Linked DNA regions of Homo sapiens: region 1 is linked to region 2. Evidence: promoter capture Hi-C in 16 types of primary human blood cells and fetal thymus (Javierre and others, 2016). All regions are on one chromosome and are shown on one strand. Each heading gives the region's core, a stretch centred on a gene start or on the middle of the fragment in contact. The rest is flanking DNA. Distances are from core to core; before and after follow the strand shown. Region 1 holds the start of PIH1D2 (PIH1 domain containing 2). Region 2 holds the start of CLDN25 (claudin 25).

Region 1 (7,067 bases), core at 261-2,760, 1.7 Mb before region 2:
CTGCACTCCAGCTTGAGCGACAGAGCCAGCAAGACCCTATCTCAAAAAAAAAAAAAAAAAAAAAAAAAAAAAGTCTGCCAGGCGCAGTGGCTCATGCCTGTAATCCCAGCACTTTGGGAGGCTGAGTCAGGTGGATCACCTGAAGTCAGGAGTTCAAGACCAGCCTGGCCAACATGGTGAAACCCCGCCTCTACTAATAATACAAAAATTAGCCGGGCATGGTAGTACACACCTGTAATCCCAGCTACTTGGGAGGCTGAGGCAGGAGAATCGCTTAAACCCGGGAGGCAGAGGTTGCAGCGAGCCAAGACCACACCATTGCACTCCAGCCTGGTGACAAAGTAAGACTCTGTCTCAAAAAACAAAACAAAACAAAACAAAACAAAAAAAAAACAAAAAAAATTAGCAATACCTAAGTGTAAAGTATTCTCTGGTTATTCTGGGATCATTTCATTCAAGACCTCCCCATCCCTGGCACCAACTCGACATACCAGAATCCTGGTCTGTAGACAAAGCTGTGGTTCTGGGGCAGCACAGAGCTGTTTCCCTTCTTTCAGCTGCTGCTGAATAAACTTCTCATAGCCCTCAGGGTCACTCTGAGCTAGATCATCTAGGAGGTTCCAAAACTGAGTAACTTGGGTAAGCAGACCTTTTGAGGATGTCTCCATGACTTATGAGTGGTGAATAATTTTCTTAAGCCTGTGGAAAAACACGACTTCAGGAAGAAAACTGTCTGTGTAATTATTGATTCATTTCTGCTTTGGGGAGGTGGAATGGGTCAGGAATTGTTTTGGTGAAGTTAGGACAGCATTTGTGTCTAAAAGGTTGTGGATCAGCACCACTTTATGTTTTCCTTATTCTTTAATTATCTAGTACCTCTTCCTAAATTCTCACATTGTCCTCTCAGATAAGGCCTTACTTCTATTTGGACCCTGACAAGTCAGAGTAATCATTTTAAGTCTGGGTTTCCTGATCTTCTTGTTCCAACACCTGACTGGTGGCTCCCCAGTTCTGAAATTGCCAGAGGTGTGGTGTGGGGTGAGGGCCACATAAGACTTCCTTAATCCTCAGTATAGTTTAGTATTTCAAAGCATGGACTTGTGAGCCAGAATGCCTAGATTCCGGTCTTAGTTCTATCTCTCACTAGCTCTGTGACCTTGAGCAATTAATGTTCTGTTCAAAATGAAGACGATAATACCTCTACCATAGGATTATTGCGAGATTAAGTAAGCTAATAGAGAGGCTGGGACACTTCTCTACGTCTTCAGATAAATCTCCTTAGCCTCTTCTCCCATTGGAGAGGTGTCCCACAGCATCTTTAGAATGAGGAAAAGAGGTTTAGATTCTTCAATTACTGTGTAAGGGTTATGCTAAACGGGAAACTTAACTAACGGATAATCATTCCATAGGTCTGCAAACCCACCTCTTCTCTCAGTTCTAACGGGTAATCATTCTATAGGTTGGCAAACCCACCTCTTCTCTCAGTTCCTTGACAAACCGCGACGCCTGTTACCAGGGTAACCAGCCTGGGTACAACATCTAATTGGGTCCGGGGAACTTCAGGGAGAAAAGTCTCTTCATATCTAGTTCCGGAATGTCCCCCTTCTGGTGCCAGGCTTGCTTTTCAGTTGGGCCTGACCCACTTCTCTTCCAGGAAAGCGCCCGCCTTCCTTCTGCACCCGTCAACCTCTGGAGTGTCCTGAAAACCCTCCCTTGTGGGAGTCTCTGGGCTGCCTGTTGGTGGGACGATTTCTCAGGAGCACGACTTCCGGCCTGAAAAGGAAGTCTCCTCCTTTTTCTCCCAAACCACTTCTTCCCCCCTACCCCCCGCCACGCGAGGCTGCGGCGCACGGTATGGGTGTGTTTGTGTGTATTTGTGTGGGGAGGGCGTTTGGAGGGAAGGTTACCGGGAGCTCCGAGGCCGCTGGGGAACAGGGATCCCGGTGACAAAGATGGGGATATTTCCTCTGTCTTCCACTTGGAAACCTCAACCCCCGCTTCAGGCTCCCTAGATACTTTCTGGGGCCCAACCGAAGGCCGTAGCCATCCAAAGCGTTCCCAGCCTTTCTGGGGAGTGAAACTTACCCCCGGGGTTCGTCCTAGAGGAGCGTGAGCGGGGAATGCCCAGGTCAACCGGGCTGTCCGAATTCCGCCCCGGCTCAGCCTCCGGCCTCAGTCCGGGAGAGAGATCTGCCTGTCGGTCTGGGCTGGGGGAAACGCGGCAGTGGCCTGGGCCACAGGTGAGGGCAGAGTAACCAGTGGGAAGGCTGCGTTTTCACGAAGGACTCGGGTGAAGCTGCAGAGCTGCCTTTGAGCCCTGACTCCTTGGCTTCCTGGGTCGGAGGAGATCTTGTAATGGAGTGGTTCTTCGTCTCACTAGCAAGATGCCTGATTTCCTCAGGATCAAGGGGTGAGTGAGCGTTGGGGTGGTTGCACAAAGCTCCTGCTAGCTACACACGAAAATATTCTTGTCATCTAGTTTTTGGAAGCTTCCGTAGCAAGTAGGAAATAAAATGCCCCCAAATGGAGAAATTTAGGACATCTTTGCATTTGATGTTTTGAGTAATCAGTTTCTGTTACTGTTGACACCCGTGGTTCCTGACACTCTCAAATCTACGTATTTGCTTCAGTGCAAACTATATTGGGATTGGAGGTTTGATTTTTAATTTAGACAGTGACATACATCATTTGCCTGGGACTATGTGGCTTGGGACGTTACAGCTTTAAGGGAACTTCATCTACAAAATAGGGATGGAGATACTTGCCTCATATAAAAAGTAGTTATGAGGATTAAATAAAATGGTGCTCATGAAAGCACTTAATTTTATGTAGTCTTGTGCATTTTCAAAGAACTTTAATGTACATTATCTCCTTTCATCTCACATTAGTGTGTTTAGGCATTTCCCTCTTTTAATGGTAAAGGGAAAACTATTCTTTAGAATCTCTGACTTCTAGTTCAGTGATCTTTCCTGTACCTCATATGCTTCTTTATAAAACTTCAAGAAAAGATAAAGTAATAACAGAAATTATTACTAAACGTTATTTGTTGATTCATTTCAGATTGAAGAATGTCCCGGATTCCACTGGGGAAGGTCCTCCTGAGGAATGTCATCCGGCACACAGATGCTCACAATAAGGTGGGAGGTACAACCTAGTTACTCCTCAACGCTTACTGAAGGCAAGCAGTGTGCCAAGCATTATTTTGGAACAACTGGGAGATACAAAGAATATTCTTGTCATCTAGTTTTTGGAAGCTTCCGTACACAGTAGGAAATAAAATGATGAATAAAATAGATAATTATAATACAGTTTGATAAGTACTGTATAACAGAGATATTTGCAAAGTGCTTTGGAGCACTAAGGAGGAAATAATAAAATCTACACTGGGGAATTAGAAAAGATTTTACAGAATTAGTGGTATTTCAGCTGCTGATCTTTGAACTGGTTCTTGAATAGGTATACGTTTACCAGGTATGAAATATCATTCTGGATAGACAGCATCATGCATTAATATGGCAACGAGAAAGAGCATTAATCACTTGGGGCATGGCAAGAAATTTATCCAGAAAGCAGGGAAGGTAGGGGATAGTGGCAGAAGATAAGGCCTCAGTGGTAATTAGAGTTGGATTGTGATGTTTGGAGCTGAGACTTCTTCCTCTAGGCAATAAAGAAGCCATCAAATGTTTTTAAACAGGGTGTGGCATGATCATAGTTATATTTTAGAAAGATGGTTTGTCAGCTGGGTAGGGAATGAATCAGATGGGGAGATACAGAAGGGAGAGTAATTAGGAGGCAATTGCAGTATTACAGGTGAGAGATGATGAGGGTTCGCATGAAATTAGTGACAGCAGGGATGAAGAAGAGGAATTTAGGAGATAGAATCCAAAGAAGTTGGTGGCTAATTAGATTATAATGATAAGAATGGAATCTAATTCAGTTGACCCTTGAACAATGCAGGGGCTAGGGGCATCAACCCCCTGCATAGTCGAAAATCCATGTATAACTTTTTACTCCCTCAAAATGTAAGTGCCAATAGCCTACTACTGACTGAAAGCCATAGCGATACCATAAACAGTGGATTAACACATATTTTTTATGTTACATGTATTATATACTGTATTCTTATAGTAAAGTAGCTAGAGAAAACAACATTTCATTAAGAAAATCACATTGAGTAGGCTGAGGAGGAAGAAGAGGGACTTGTTTTGCTATCTTACAGGTGGCAGAGGTGGAAGAAAATCTGAGGATAAGTGGACCTGCACAGTTGAGATTCCTGTTGTTCAAGGTCAACTGTGTAACCACCTATGTGACTGGGTAGATGATGACAATTCTGTTAATTGAGATAAAGAACAAAAAATGGGACAATTATGATAGGAAAGGTAATTAGTTTGGTTTTCAACATGTTGATGGTGAGGTGCTTATAGGATGTCCAAGCAGTTGAAAATTCAGACTTGGAGTAGAGGAGAAAAGTTGGGGCTGGACATAAAGGTTTCGGGATTATTGATGTATAGGTTGATGATAAGAGGTCATGAGAGTAGATGAGGTCACCTAGGAGAGCACATATAATGAAAAGAGGGCCAAGGCCCCTGGTTTAGTTTTCTTCAGTAAACTGTACTACTTTTGGTTTGATCATATTATTATTATCATATCACCTGATTTTTAAAATTATGGGCGAGGGTAAAACTGTTACCCGAGCTGCCTATGCAATTATGTTAACCTGCCCCTAGTTATATAGTAAGCTTAGATTTAAAATGGTAGCTAGAAAAAGATAAATCTAGCACAGATCTAATGAAATTATGCAGGAAGACTTAGAAATAAAATGTGTTCTTTGGGTAATCACATTCTGCTTTTCAAGAAATTCCCTAGCAGCCATACTGATTATTTTATTTTATTTTATTTTTGACAAAAATTATAATATTACCAGAAGAGATTTAGCTTAGGGAGTTTAAAGACCTGTCCTTACTAGTTTTTTGACTTTGTTAAAATCTCTGAGCTTTTGTTTCTTTACAGTAAAATGTAATAATGGTAGCTGCTATATTTTCCTCATGAGATTGCTTAAGGTTCAATTGAGATGATATAATTAAAATCATATTGCATTTTGGAAATGTGGCATTATCATTTGCTAATCGCAGCATAATTGCAAGATTGATAAGGTGATGTTTGTCTGTGCAGCGGTTTAAAAATTCTATTGGGGAAGATTTCCACATATTTGAGATTTACTGGATTGGACTGTTCAGCCACTTTCTAGAGAAACCAATTTGTTTTCCAGGTTCCTGATCATAGCCCAGTCTGTAGCCCAATAATTAGTCAGATTGTATTTTCAGTTAGTTGCTTTTTTTTTTTTTTCTTTTTTTGTTGATACAGAGTCTCACTCCATCGCCCAGGCTGGAGTGCAGTGGTGCAATCTCGGCTCACTGCAACCTCTGCCTCCAGGGTTCAAGCGATTCTCCTGCCTCAGCCTCCTGAGTAGCTGGGATTACAGGTGCATGCTACCACGCCCGGCTAATTTTTGTATTTTTATTAGAGACGGGGTTTCACCATGTTGGTCAGGCTGGTGTCAAACTCTTGACCTCATGATCTGCCTGCTTTGGCCTCCCAAAGTGCTGGGATTACAGGTGTGAGCCACTGTGCCCGGCCAGTTAGTTACTTTTCTGTAATGTAAAGTTATTTTTAGTAACTTATTTTTATTTCCTTTTTAAAAATTCTAGATTCAGGAGGAATCAGATATGTGGAAAATAAGAGAACTGGAAAAACAGATGGAAGATGCTTACCGGGGGACCAAAAGGAAAATGCTACCCAGCAGTTCAAGGTGAAGTTGCAGCTCTGAGAACTAAAATAATTCTCATCTTTTTCAGAATCATCAACTTTTGTTTAAAAATACTTTGGTATATTAAGGATAAATTCAGTTCTGTGAGTCCTTAAGCCTTCCTTCTTTCGTAAATCTAGACCCAGGCATAAAGATAATGGCTGTGACGCATATGGCCCTGCTCTTTGTACTTATTTACAATGGAGAGTTAAAAAATTCTACCTGAACAATTATGAATGTGTAGGGTTCTGTGGATTCTAACCTTACCTGATAGCTTTTAACTGAAGATTTTATACTGGAATCTTGTGGTCACTAAGCTGATCAGTCATTCTATTCTCTATTAATCTTTCATTCTTTCAGGCTTTTCTTTTTGTAGCTGGAACTGCAGGTGCATGCCACTATGCCTAGCTACTTTTTTTTTGTAGAGGTGGTGTCTTGCTGTGTTCCCCAGGCTGGTATAGAATCCTGGGCTCACGCAGTCCTCCCACCTCAACCTCCCAGTGTTGGGATTATAAGCATGAGCCACTTGCCTGGCCTCAGACTTTTCTTCACCCTGTCTATTCACCCTCTTCACCAGATCAACAGCCTTTTCACATTACCTTAATAGCTTGAGTGTAAATATGAAGGATTATGCAGGCTTAGTTATCTTCCTTGTGGAGAGGCCTAGGAATGCTTGAATAATTGGGAAGATCCTTACACGCTTGTAAGTGTAAGAGCTACATATATAAGAAATACTTAAACTCTTTAGGAGCAGGGCTTGTGATTTTCTCATTTGCTGCTATATTCCTGCCAGCTAGACCAGTACCTGGTACATAGGAGGCCCTTACAATTTTTTTTTTTTTTTTTTTTTGAGATGGAGTTTCGCTTTTGTTACCCAGGCTGGAGTGCAATGGTGTGGTCTTGGCTCACTGCAACCTCCGCCTCCTGGATTCAGCCAATTCTTCTGCCTCAGCCTCCCAATCAGCTGGGATTACAGGCACCTGCCACCACGCCTGGCTAATTTTTGTATTTTTAGTAGAGACAGGGTTTCACCATGTTGGCCAGGCTGGTCTTGAACTCCTGAGCTCAAAGTGATCCACCCACCTCGGCCTCCCAAAGTGCTGGGATTACAGGCGTGAGCCACTGGACCTGGCCCCTTAAAAATTTTTGATAACCGATTAGCAGCTTACTGGCTAGTTAGTAGAAATGGTAAACAGAAGCTGGATCAGTGGTTCTCAACTTTTTTCCTACTCCAGTATTCCCATGGGTTAGACCTTGTTCC
Region 2 (7,168 bases), core at 4,054-6,553:
GGGTGGTGGATTTATGGTATTTATTCTCTTCTCTGCCCTTGCTTTCTCTATTTTTCTGCAGTAAACATACACAGTCCTCCCTTGGTATGGGGGGATTGGTTCCAGAAACCTCCCCTGCCCCAGTAGCAAAATCCGTGGATGCTCAAGTCTCTTACATAAAATGATGTAATGTTTACAAGTAACCAGCACACATCCTCCCCATACACTTTAAATCATCTCTTGATTACTTATAAGACCTAATACAAATCAATCTAAATGCTATAGAGTCGTTATATTGTATTTTGATTTGCATTATTTTTTGTTGTTGTATTGTTATTTTTTATTAGTTTTTTCCAGAATATTTTTGATCTGTGGTTGGTTGGATCCGTGGATACCAAGAGCCAGATGTACTGTTTTGATTAAAAGGTTTTTGGTTTTTTAAAAAGATATATTGTGAGGGTTGACCCCAAGTAGGCACTGACTCTAAGATCCCTGACAATTGTTAAGTGTCTTTGAGACAATCTGCTTATCCCAGTGAAGCAAGGGCCAATTCACATGCCATGAGCAAAGGAAACAAAACTGGGATTGAGAGAGGAAGCACTGAAAACAGCCAAAACATCCTGAGAAACTCCCTTCCTTGGAAAACCAAATCAATTTCTTTTTGGTAGACCTGTCAACTTTGAATTCTAACTGCAACTAATAATAAATGCCCAATGACAAAGAATGACTGATAGATGAAAATTCTGAAACTTTGTACTGCATATTTATTAAGCAATTATCACATAGCAGACATTGTGCTAGGTCTGGGGACCCACAACATGTGAATATATAATCACAGAAAAATATGATAATTACTAATTTGTAGGTAGATGAGGGATGGATCTAGATTTAGTGGAACTTAAATCTTATACAGTTGCAGGGAGGGGAAGGACTCTTTAAAGAAAAGAATATAAAATAATGAATACAAAATTAGATGTCAGCCTTAGAAGGGGCTTGTGCAAGTAATGAGCTGTGAAGTTTAATCTGCCCCTGAGGAAGATGCAAATGGCAGAGGAAATATTGGAGGAAGAGCACCCAGTCTCTGACTGAATTAGAAAGGTTTCACAATGTTAACATTTACAGGAGGCCATCACTTTGGACTGAGTTCCTGCACTAAGCCCAACAGACCAAACCAAAATGGAGTCACTCATGCTAAAGCTCTACTTCGCCAAACCAAAACTAAGCTGTCTGTCTGACCTTCTGAGAAATCAGGAGAATGAGAGATAATCACCAAATTCCCAAACCTGCCAGTTTCAGTCTTCATGATAACGAAGTTCCCTCTGTTTTAATTCTTACAAAAAAGTACCTGAACTAAACTGATGCCAATCAATCAGTTATTTTTCTATTGTTCTGTTTCTCAGTTCCCACCTTACCAGGAAATTAAATTTGAAACAGCCAATCTGCTTTTTGTTCTTTGTGTCTCCTTTCTTCAGCCTTTTTCTTTCTATAAAACCAACCTCATCTGTTCAGCTCATCGGGACACTGATTCTACTTTATGGAATGAAGTGTTGCCTGATTCTAGAATCACAAATAAAGTGAATTAAGATCTTTAAACTAAACTCGTTGTAATTTTGTCTTTTGACAACGGTAATGAGAAATCTGAAGTGAGAATGAAAGGAAGTGCTACTTTGAGGTTGAGGTTCTGGGACCTCCCTCCAGAAAACCTGTGTGTACAGACCCACAAAACACAACTGCCTAAGTTCTTGCTTCTTCCTGAGCAGAGAGACTACTGGGTAAGGTGAAGACTGTTCCTCAAGGTCCAAGGAAAAGTCAGGGAAGAGCCAGAGTTAGGCTGAGAAAGGAGAAGAAAGAGCGTGCAGCATGGAATGTGATGGCTACACACAGTCAATGCATGCAGCAATGAATGAATACTTGAATTTAAAAAAAGAAATTAATAAATGCATGTGTTCTGTATTCCCTCATTAACCTCACCTTCTTCATAGTTCACATTTATCATGGCTTATATGTCTCCCAATTCACAGATGTTCATAAATCATCAGGAAAAGGCAAGGAAGTCAGGAGCAAAGTCTGAAAGGATTCCTCCTGGCCTATCATGGCTCACATACACATGACATACCTGTATTCAAGAAGCAAAGTAGCGAATGCATATTTCTGGTAGAGGACAGTACAATCAGACAGCGTTTCCACGTTTGCACAGTATTTGCCATCATGTTGCTATAAAAGCAGCATAAGGCGCTTAAAATTTGAAAAAGCAACCCATTTGCTTCAAAATAGTATGAAAGGGAAGGGCTGGGTGCAGGTAGAAATGAAGCAAGATTGGGATGAGTGGATAATTTTTGAAGTGAAATGATGCAATATGGGATTTCTTTATACAATTCATTCTACTTTTGTATATGTTTGAAGTTTTCTGTAATAAAACATAAAAGAGAAAAGAGCACTTCAGATGATTCTGTGTGCCTTCCTCCAAACCCTCACACCACGGATAAACACTGGTATACCAGATGTCTTAGGTGTTGAGCCATCAGTTAGATAAACTCAAGATCCTCCTTTCTCAGGAGATGTCTCTTCTGTAGGCAAAAGAAAGGGAGATCAGACTGTTACTGTGTCTATGTAGAAAGGAAAGACATAAGAGACTCCATTTTGAAAAAGACCTCTACTTTAAATAATTGCTTTGCTGAGATGTTAATTTGTAGCTTTGCCCCAGCCACTTTGACCCAACCACTTTGATCCAATCTGGAGCTCACAAAAACATGTGTTGTATGAAATCAAGGTTTAAGGGATCTAGGGCTGTGCAGGACATACCTTGTTAACAAAATGTTTACAAGCAGTATACTTGGTAAAAGTCATCGCCATTCTCTAGTCTCAATAAACCAGGGACACAATGCACTGTGGAAAGCCGCAGGGACCCCTGCCCTTGAAAGCGGGGTATTGTCCAAGGTTTCTCCCCATGTGATAGTCTGAAATATGGCCTCATGGGATGAGAAAGATCTGACCGTCACCCTGCCCGACACCCGTAAAGGGTCTGTGCTGAGGTGGATTAGTAAAAGAGGAAAGCCTCTTGCAGTTGAGATAGGGGAAGGCCACTGTCTCCTGCCTGCCCCTGGGAACTGAATGTCTCGGTATAAAACCCAATTGTACATTTGTTCAATTCTGAGATAGGAGAAAAACCACCCTATGGTGGGAAGCCAGACATGTTTGCAGCAATGCTGCCTTGTTATTCTTTACTCCACTGAGATGTTTGGGTGGAGAGAAACATAAATCTGGCTTACCTGCACGTCCAGTCATAGTACCTTCCCTTGAACTTAATTATGACGTAGATTCTATTGTTCACGTGTTTTTCTCCTTACTATCACCCTGCCCTCCTACTACATTCCTTTTTACTGAAATAATGAAGATAATAATCAATAAAAACTGAGGGAACTCAGAGACCGGTGCCGGTGCAGGTCCTTGGTATGTTGAACGCCGGTCCCCTGGGCCCACTGTTGTTTCTATACACTTTGTCTCTGTGTCTTATTTCTTTTCTCAGTCTCTTGTCCCACCCGACTAGAAATACCCACAGGTGTGGAGGGGCAGGCCACCCCTTCATCTTCCTTTCAGGAACACCTTTGCTTTCACTTCATATCTACCACAGTGTGGAGCAGGTTAATTTGTGAATAGGGAAACACATGAGTCAGACATTCATGACTCCAACAGAATAAGTCCGTTTTCTTCTCTGTCTCGCTATAAAGACTAAGCCTCACCCACATGATGTGTCACCAGTGTGCAGGGGCAGCTGCTGCAGCCTGGGGACAAGAACATCAAATGTCCGAGTCTGAGCTGCCTGGTTCGTGTTGGATCTGTTGTTTACCAGCTGGGGGACCTTGGCAAGTTACGTAACATGTATCACACAGTGGCAGTGTGAAAATTAAATACGGATAAAGTGTCTAGCCAAAAGTCTGGCATTTAGCCGTACTCAGTAAATGCAAATTATTTCCTTTCCTGTCAGAACCTGCTACTTGGCAGCAGCAACAAACAGGAATGGAAGCTGGTATGATTACCATCTATTTATAGCTGCTGTCCCAGCAGCAAGGGGAGCCTGGGGAGGGAGCACCTCCCTCTGGGGATATTCTGTGTCTGGGTAGGTTCCTTGGATTGAGGAATTTAAAATTATTTTGTAAAATTAATATTTGTGGGCTTTTTGTAATAAAAATATTAAGTGATAAATTTATAAAATGTGTAAAATGCGTAAAATGCATAGGTAAGCACAAATAAGGAAATAAAAACTATGCATAATTTTATCACCAAAATAATCATGTTAACATTTTGTGGTCTACACATATACACACACACACGCACACACACACGCACACACACACGCACATATTTCTATATATTCTTTGGCTTTTTCTTTTTTCTGAGATGGGGTCTCACTCTGTCACCCAGGCTGGAGTGTAGTGGCATGATCTCGGCTAACTGCAACCTCCGCCTCCCAGGTTCAAGAGATTCTCCTGCCTCAGCCTCCTAAGCAGCTTGGACTACAGGCGTGTGTCACCATGCCCGGCTAATTTTTTTCACTTTCTTAGTAGAGGTGAGGTTTCGCCATGTTGCCCAGGCTGGCCTCGAACTCCTGGCCTCAAGTAATCCACCCACCTCAGCCTCCCAAAGTGCTGGGATTACAGGCATGAGCCACCGTGCCCGGCTGCATTCTATATATTCCATGTACTGTTTGGTCACTTGCTTTTCTCACTTAACAATATATCAAAAATATTTTTCAAATCATTAAAATTCTTTCTACAAAATCACTTTAAAATGGCTGCCAAGTATTAACAAAAACTGACAATTCTTAACAATATTTCAATGGACATTTTCATAAATCTTTGTACGTATTCATGATACATTAGGTAGATTCCTGGAGATAAGGTGCTGGGTCAAAGTATGCATATGTTTAAAAGCATGAAACATAAAGTCATGTTGCCCTTCAAAAAGATTATATCAACGTATATTTCCAGAACATCAATCATTCTTGTGATCTCAGAGCTGAGGAGTGATTTTAGTTTATGAATTTATTCATCAAATATGTATTGATGGCTCCCTGTATGGCTTTTTTGCTGGTCATGGGACCCTCCCCCAGATTTCACACCCACATCCGATATTGGACACACCCTCTAAACCCAAACATTGCCAATTCCTGGCACCTGCCTCAGCTGCTGCTCAGAATACTGAAACAAGAGCCCTCTCCCAATGTGAAAGATCTTCCACTCAAGCCTCCTGAAAAGTAGTCCCTGCTAACCAGTCACTGACCCACTCGTGCTCCTTTTCTTTCTGCATCTGTGGTGGGAGTGACTATGGCCTGGAGTTTCCGTGCAAAAGTCCAGCTCGGGGGGCTACTTCTCTCCCTCCTTGGCTGGGTCTGCTCCTGTGTTACCACCATCCTGCCCCAGTGGAAGACTCTTAATCTGGAACTGAACGAGATGGAGACCTGGATCATGGGGATTTGGGAGGTCTGCGTGGATCGAGAGGAAGTCGCCACTGTGTGCAAGGCCTTTGAATCCTTCTTGTCTCTGCCCCAGGAGCTCCAGGTAGCCCGCATCCTCATGGTAGCCTCCCATGGGCTGGGCCTATTGGGGCTTTTGCTCTGCAGCTTTGGGTCTGAATGCTTCCAGTTTCACAGGATCAGATGGGTATTCAAGAGGCGGCTTGGTCTCCTGGGAAGGACTTTGGAGGCATCCGCTTCAGCCACTACCCTCCTTCCAGTCTCCTGGGTGGCCCATGCCACAATCCAAGACTTCTGGGATGACAGCATCCCTGACATCATACCTCGGTGGGAGTTTGGAGGTGCCCTCTACTTGGGCTGGGCTGCTGGTATTTTCCTGGCTCTTGGTGGGCTACTCCTCATCTTCTCGGCCTGCCTGGGAAAAGAAGATGTGCCTTTTCCTTTGATGGCTGGTCCCACAGTCCCCCTATCCTGTGCTCCAGTGGAGGAGTCAGATGGCTCCTTCCACCTCATGCTAAGACCTAGGAACCTGGTCATCTAGGACTGGCTTCTGCCAAGGATCTCTGGAATAAAGGAATGTCTGTAGACTCCTTTCTCACTCTAGGTTTGTTTGCTTCATTTTGGGGCTGGTGGTCACTGTCCCACTTATCAAGGATGTGATTGTCTTGATGATATGGTAGTCCTCATTTCAGAATAAAAAATCAGGGCACAGTGTCTAACAAATGTATTTTTCTGATTTGAGATTTTATTTAGATAAAAATGCTTTAAAAAACTCATAACCTTAATTACATATTTGATTCTTTTATTACTAAGGAAAAATATATTACAAAATTGCAACCATCAGAGAAAATCTAGTGTGAAGAGGCACTTACTGTTCTGAATAGGTTACAAAAATAAAACTTGAAGAAGGTACCTTGGCAAAGGAAAATGAATTATTGTTCCAGAACAGCATCTTAGGACAGAAATTCTCTTTGTGTCCATTTTCAGCCTCAGGTGTACCATTTGAAAGACAACTTCACAATATACCTTTGCTGTTTTATAGATCCTTAATATCCCAAAGGAGAGACATAGGCTTGTTTCTGCTACATTGTGAGGCGATGAGCAGTCTACTCTGTCTTCCCCACCTGAAGGTTAACAGTCAGTCTGAGTGAGTGGTAGGGTGACCAACCCTCCTGGTTTGCCCAGAACAAGGTACTTTTGGTGCTAAAACTAGGAAAGTCCCAAGCAAACTGGGACCCAGTGATTACCTTAGAATGACTGTGTCCAAATACTGCCCAATGTGGTCATGTATATGAAAGAAGTAGCTTCTCAGAAATGTCTTTTACCAAGTGCAAAATCACAGTATAAACTCCTTGAATTTTGTTTTGCTGTGTTTTTTTGTTTGTTTGTTTTTGTTTTTGAGACAGGGTCTCACTCTGTTGCCCAGCCTGGAGTGCAGTTGCATGATCATAGCTCACTGCAGCCTCAAACTCTTATTAGGCTCAAGGGATCCTCCTGCCTCAGCCTCCTGAGTAGCTGGGACTACAGGCATGAGCCACCAAGCTCAGCTAATTTTTAAAATATTTTGTAGAAATGGGGTCTCGCTATATTGCCCAGGCTGTTATCAAACTTCTGGCCTCCTCTTAAATTTTAACCTGAGTGTCAGCAGACCTACCCAGGTTGTGGCTACAAATCAAGTCCCTTCCATAACGATAACCTAAGTTCCTTTGCTTGCTC

Evidence for each region. The method cuts DNA at HindIII sites, captures the fragments that hold promoters and counts their contacts. A CHiCAGO score of 5 or more calls a contact.
Region 1: the fragment with the promoter of PIH1D2 here is called in contact with the fragment with the promoter of CLDN25 in region 2 in 1 of 17 cell types (activated CD4 T cells); the score reaches 6.6 in activated CD4 T cells.

What each region holds. Positions count from the first base shown.
Region 1 is chr11:112,072,507-112,079,573 of GRCh38, forward strand. It overlaps PIH1D2 (PIH1 domain containing 2), which reads right to left and starts at 1,511. Exons shown (of 6, transcript NM_138789.4): 1 at 1,474-1,511; 2 at 492-699. The coding sequence starts at 668. It overlaps NKAPD1 (NKAP domain containing 1), which reads left to right and starts at 1,793. Exons shown (of 6, transcript NM_018195.4): 1 at 1,793-2,410; 2 at 3,061-3,137; 3 at 5,709-5,809. The coding sequence starts at 3,069. RefSeq lists enhancers at 1,596-1,645, 2,056-2,175, 2,236-2,285. The HindIII fragment of the contact is 10,336 bases long and covers 1-2,487 here.
Region 2 is chr11:113,774,493-113,781,660 of GRCh38, forward strand. It overlaps CLDN25 (claudin 25), which reads left to right and starts at 5,304. Exons shown (of 1, transcript NM_001101389.1): 1 at 5,304-5,993. The coding sequence starts at 5,304. The coding sequence ends at 5,993. The HindIII fragment of the contact is 9,706 bases long and covers 1-7,168 here.